Linked DNA regions of Homo sapiens: region 2 is linked to region 1. Evidence: promoter capture Hi-C in 16 types of primary human blood cells and fetal thymus (Javierre and others, 2016). All regions are on one chromosome and are shown on one strand. The core of a region is centred on a gene start or on the middle of the fragment in contact, and the rest is flanking DNA. Distances in the headings are between cores, read along the strand shown.

Evidence for each region. The method cuts DNA at HindIII sites, captures the fragments that hold promoters and counts their contacts. A CHiCAGO score of 5 or more calls a contact.
Region 2: the fragment with the promoter of PDE7B-AS1 here is called in contact with a fragment that was not itself captured in region 1 in 3 of 17 cell types (endothelial precursors, fetal thymus and M1 macrophages); the score reaches 10.5 in endothelial precursors.

Annotation. Positions count from the first base shown.
Region 1 is chr6:135,502,984-135,505,819 of GRCh38, reverse strand. All of the region lies in intron 2 of AHI1-DT (AHI1 divergent transcript), which reads right to left. Among named protein-coding and RNA genes, the nearest start is that of AHI1-DT, 6.6 kb to the right of the region's middle. The HindIII fragment of the contact is 1,635 bases long and covers 628-2,262 here.
Region 2 is chr6:136,071,407-136,074,153 of GRCh38, reverse strand. PDE7B-AS1 (PDE7B antisense RNA 1) reads left to right here and starts at 1,327. Exons shown (of 4, transcript NR_149042.1): 1 at 1,327-1,605. The region is part of intron 2 of PDE7B (phosphodiesterase 7B); the gene reads right to left. The HindIII fragment of the contact is 8,353 bases long and covers 1-1,586 here.

The sequences.
Region 1 (2,836 bases), core at 196-2,695:
GATTCAAGGCCTTGCTCAGTGTGAGAACTAAGATGTTTGCATAAAAGTGGAACCCTTAAAAGATTACAGCAGCAAAGATAAACAAGGAAGTTTGTTTGTAGGGGCTAAAGTTCAGGTAGAGAAAAAAAAAATCTTCCCTCAAAATTATAACCATATCCTCTGTTTCATAGGATTTGGGTTCGAACCTATAGTAATCTGATAGGTTGGATATGGGGTATAAGAAAAGGAGAAAGGTCAAAGGTTATGATAAAAGAAAAACTTTAACTGAATTAAATTTAAAGGAATTTAATTGAGCAGTGAATGATTTGCAAATCAGACAGCCTTCCCAGACAGAGTAGGCTCGGAGACTCCAGCGCAGCCATGTGCTGGAAGATTTATGGACAGAAAAAGGAGTGAGGCACAGAAAATGGAAGTGAGGTACAGAACCAGCTGGATTGGTTACAGCTTTGTGTTTGCCTTATTTAAACATGGTTTGAATAGTTGACGACATTTGATTGGCCAAAACTTGGTGATTGGCCCAAGTGTAGGCTACATCTGGTTACACTTCTACTTGTTATAGTTTAAGATGTACAAAGAAACATTTAGGCTGAATTTAAAATATGTAAGGAGGTAGTTTTAGGCTAAGCTTGATTTAACAGTTACTCCAATGTATTTGGTGTTTGGCTTGAGTAACTGGAAGAATGGAGTTGTCATTGCTTGAGATGGAGAAAGTGGGGATTTGAGGAGGCAGATGAGGAATTCAGTGTTAGAAAAGTTAAGTTTGAGAATATGTCGGACATCTAAGTGGAGACATGTAATATACAGTTAGATTTATGAGTCTGAAGTTCAAGGAAGAATAATGGGCAGAAGGGATATATTTGGGAGTAGTCTACATGACAGTGGGACTATAGAACTGTAAGAAATCACTGAGTGAGTACGTGTAGATAGAGAAGTCCAGGAACATACCTCTGGGACATTCCAATATCAAGAGGTCAAGGTGATAGGCATGAACTAGTAAAGGAGCCCTAGAAAGAGGAAAAGCAGGAAAATGTGCAATCACCGGTTAGAAAATGTAATAAGAATTGGATGCATTCAAAATAGCACCAAAAATCTATAAAATGCTGAGGAATAAATAATAATATGAGAGACTTATAAGAAAAGTATCTTATTTTTTAAAAGCCACCATATCACCTTTTGACACTTTCACTATAATTGCTTAAAAACACTTTGGATTAGAAGTGATATAGCATAAAGCCATTAAAATGAATGGGGTAGATATATGTTACTGACATAAAAAGCCTTTTAGAAATAATAATACTTGATAAAGGACAAAAACAAGATGACAGGACAAAATCTATGGTAAGAAGTTATCTTTATAATTTAGTATATTTAGTATATGTATGAATGGAAGTATGAAAGAATGTATAGAAGACTGATCAGTGATTAAAAACACGGCTGACTTTCGGTTACCACATTATAAATATCTGAACGATTGTTTGAAATTTTTCCACGTGCACATAAGAACATTACTAACAAAGTTAGAATTTCCAGTGATGATTAAGTGGTGATATATACAGCATCTCCTTCTTATCTGCATGGGATATGTTCCAAGATCCCCAGTGGATGTCTGAAACTACAGGTAGTAGCAAAGCCTGTATTTACTATACTTGCATGCCTTTCTCAAAGTCAAATAAAACATAGAGTCAAATTTCCACATTTCAAACATTTTATTTGGGAAATGAGAATTGCATTTCCAGGCAAACACACAGAATGGGTGGTCTTCAGTATGTCTGAAAAACAAAGATCAGGTTGGAGGTTTTATAAAAAGGAAAAATGTTACCCATTGTTTTGCAAAGAAACAATGGGTAACATTTGGGGAGCTGGCGAGCTCTGATTGGCGAGTGATGGCAGTGGGTAAAACTAATCTTAGTGTCACAGCAGGTTATTTCATTAGCTATCAGATAAAACTGATTTCAGATTACAACAGGCAGTTTCAGTAGCTGGGCTTGTGGAAAATTTAATTCTTGGAGCAGATGCTATATGCCCCAAATGCTTTTTCCCCTGGGCCCTTCACTCTGATTTAGTTGGGTACAACAAGAATGACCCAATTTCTATAATCAACTTTCACACCTCTCATAAAGTTTAATTTATAAATTAGGCCCAGTAAGAGATTAACAGCAATAACTAATAACAATATAAAGTTTTTATAACAATATACTGTATTAATAGTTATTATGTAAATGTAATCTCTTATTTTCTCTCTAAAAATTTTCAAACCAAGCTTGTTGAGTGAAACCTCAGAAAGCAAAACCATGGTTAAGGGGGCACTATTGTAATAGCATGGAAATGAAATTGCAACATAATGTTCATTCAAGTAAGCAGAAATAAACATTTTACACACAACATGACCAAAATTAAAATACGCATGGAAAACAGACTGAAACGAAATTTGTCAAAAAAGTTAATTTAGATTCTCTTGGGTAGTGGTATTGAGTATTTTTTCCTTTTTTTCATGATTCTACATATTTCAAATTATCTATAATACATATATTCTTACTTTTATTTTTCCTGCTTATTATAAAAATTTCCAAACACACAAAGGAAAAAGTATAATGAAATACTAGGTACCTACCAGCCAGCTTCAACAACCATCAAAATTTAGATATACATGTGTCATTTCCTCTCACCTTTTAAAAAAATCTAGAATATTTTAAAGCAAATCCTGGACACCTTATCATTCTGTTCTGTGCACGTAAGTCATACTCTACATAACCACACCAACATTATTTTACCTAATGAAATTAATAAACATTTCTTAACATCTTCTAAATATTTAGCCCATAACAAAAAATCTGAT
Region 2 (2,747 bases), core at 78-2,577, 570 kb before region 1:
TCAAATGATTCTTTTACCTCAGGTAATTCTTTTACCCAAGTAGCTGGGATTACAGGTGTGTGCCACCGTGCCCAGTTCATTTTTTTGTATTTTTAGTACAGACAGGGTTTCACCATGTTGGCCAGGCTGGCCAAATTCCTTTTTGTCATAGGAACGAGATAGGCATAAATTCTCCACGAAGGAATTATTTCTATTGGAAAGAATATGGGAACTAAATTTTTTTATTTGCTTCAGATATGGGACTTTTGGTGAAATTTCAGTTTTCTGCGCATTGTACTTTCACAACAAGTTTTTAGAAATCACGCTGAAATTCTCAACTGAGAGATACGTATCATGATCAACCTTTGCCACTTATACTCTGATACATGTGGTGGTGTATTTCCAGATTTTTACTATGTGTGGCTGTAAAAATGCTGTTATGGGCTAGAGTGTGTCCCCTGCCAAATTCGTATGTTAAAATCCTAACCCAAGCACCTCAGAATGTGACCTATATGGAGATGGGGTCTTTTAAAAGGCAGTTAAGTTAGATGAGGCCACTGGAGTAGGCCCTAATCCATTATGACTAGTGCACTTGTATGAAGAGAAAATTAGGACACAGGCCCAGAGGGAAGACCATAGAAGTGACATCTACAAGCCGAGGGGAGAGGCCTCAGAAGAAACCAACTCCACAGATGCCTTGATCCTGGACTTTCAGCCTGTAAGACTGTGAGAAAATCAGTTTCTGTTGTTTAAGCCATTGAGTTTATGGTGCTGTGTTATGACAGCCTTAGCTGATTAAGACATATGCCCGTAATTTTATGACTCAGTAAAGAAAATATTCACTTTTACTTAATTAACCCAATCATGTTCTTTACACACAAAGAAGGAGTCTTTCAGATCTGTTACCCCAGGACCTGTCACAATGCATGGCGTACGGAGGCACTCTGTGCACACGTTGAGTTTATGGACTGTCCCTGAATGTCATTCAGATGGAGGACTTTGCTTGTGGCCCTAGTTGTGTGATATGAACAGACTTCAGCATGGCCATCCCTGCCGACGCCACCATCTCAGATATTCCATCAATGCTCCTTAGCCCCGAGAGCAGGCCAAAAAGACAAAGAACATGGTCTCCAAGCGGCCCAGCCCCAAGCAACACAACTCCCTGGGGTTTCTCCAAAAAGAGAAGGGTGCGTTGAGTGGCTCTTAGCTGTTCCTACCAGGATATACAGGTGAGCCAAGAAAAACCACATGGCTAGCTTTATCAGGAGCTGCTGACAGGCCTGAAAGATCCAAAACGGACACCTGACCCATGTGACTGTTGTCAGAACACTATCCACCATGGCAACCAGGCCAGTTTCCATCGCACATGTGTCCCGCAGCTCCACCGAAAAGGATCAAGAAAGTCAGGATTCTAAATACCAACAGCATCACTCTGTCAAAACCACCCTTGCAACCTTTCTCAGAAAAGGAAATGTAATGACAAGATGAAAGTTAGCCAGAACGGCCATGTCCAGAAAAGCTCTCAGTAGTACAGCCATCTGTCCGAAATACTCTAACCTACAAGGTGGCCACGGTCTCTTCAGAGGGTCATGGAGCTCTGCAAAGCTTGTCTTAAAACTGATTAAGGTAAAATAGTTATTAGAAGACATCTTTTTCTTTCTTAAGATCAATAGAAAAATAAACAGGGCTGGGCAAGGTGGCTTACACCCAGAATCCCAGCACTTTAGTAGGCCAGGGCAGGAGGATCGCTTGAGCCCAGGAGTTCAAGAGCAGCCTGGGCAACACAGCAAGAACTCATCTCTACTTAAAAAACAAAATTAAAGTATCAGCTATGCCATGAGCTATCTAACCAGGTGCCCCTCTCCCACCATTTCCTCTCCCTGTACCCTGTTTAGGTCCTTCACAGAACTTAGGACAATTTCGATTTGTCTTTCTCTCTCCTCGCCTCCCCGCCTATTTATTTTCTGTTTTCCCCATTAAGGGCAGGAACTGTGTTTATTGTATTTGCCATTATATATTCAAGACAAATTATGATGCCTGCTACATAATAAATGCTCAATAAATATTTGTAGAATGACTGACTGAATGAAAAAAATGTTAAAGGGGACTGAGGGAAGAAGCTAAAATATATTTAGTTTTTGTGCTGTGTACCTTTTAAGGCACTGTTGTAGGGTCACCTCATTTAATTCTTAAAACATAATAGATGCTTAATAAATATTTTTAGAATGACTAACTGAAGGAAAAAAATGTTAATGGAAACCAAGGAAAAAAGCTAAAATACATTTACTTGTTACTGCACTGTGTACCTTGTTAGGCATTGTTATATGATCATGTCATTTAATCCTTAAAACATTAGAATGCTGCACTCATTTATTAATTTATTGAGTGGAATCTTGCTCAGTTGCCCAGGCTGGAGTGCAGTGGTGTGATCATAGCTCAGTGAAGCCTCGAACTTTTGGCCTCAAGCGATCCTCCCACCTTAGCCTCCCTAGTAGCTGGGACTACAGGCATGCACCACTACACTTGGCTAGAGTGATATAATTTTAACATAATTTTTCCAGTAAGAAAACTGACATCCAGAGAAGTTTATAATTTCTTGGTGTTTCTGTAATGGTGAAATGAACTATCTCTCTGTTGCCTTTCTAGCACTTTGAAAATAAAATTCTCAATACTTCAGAATTAAACTTATGTATACACACGTGTGTGTGTGTTTCCAGTTTACTTTTCCTCTTGTCCAACCTTTCTGATATGTTAGTGATTCTGAACTT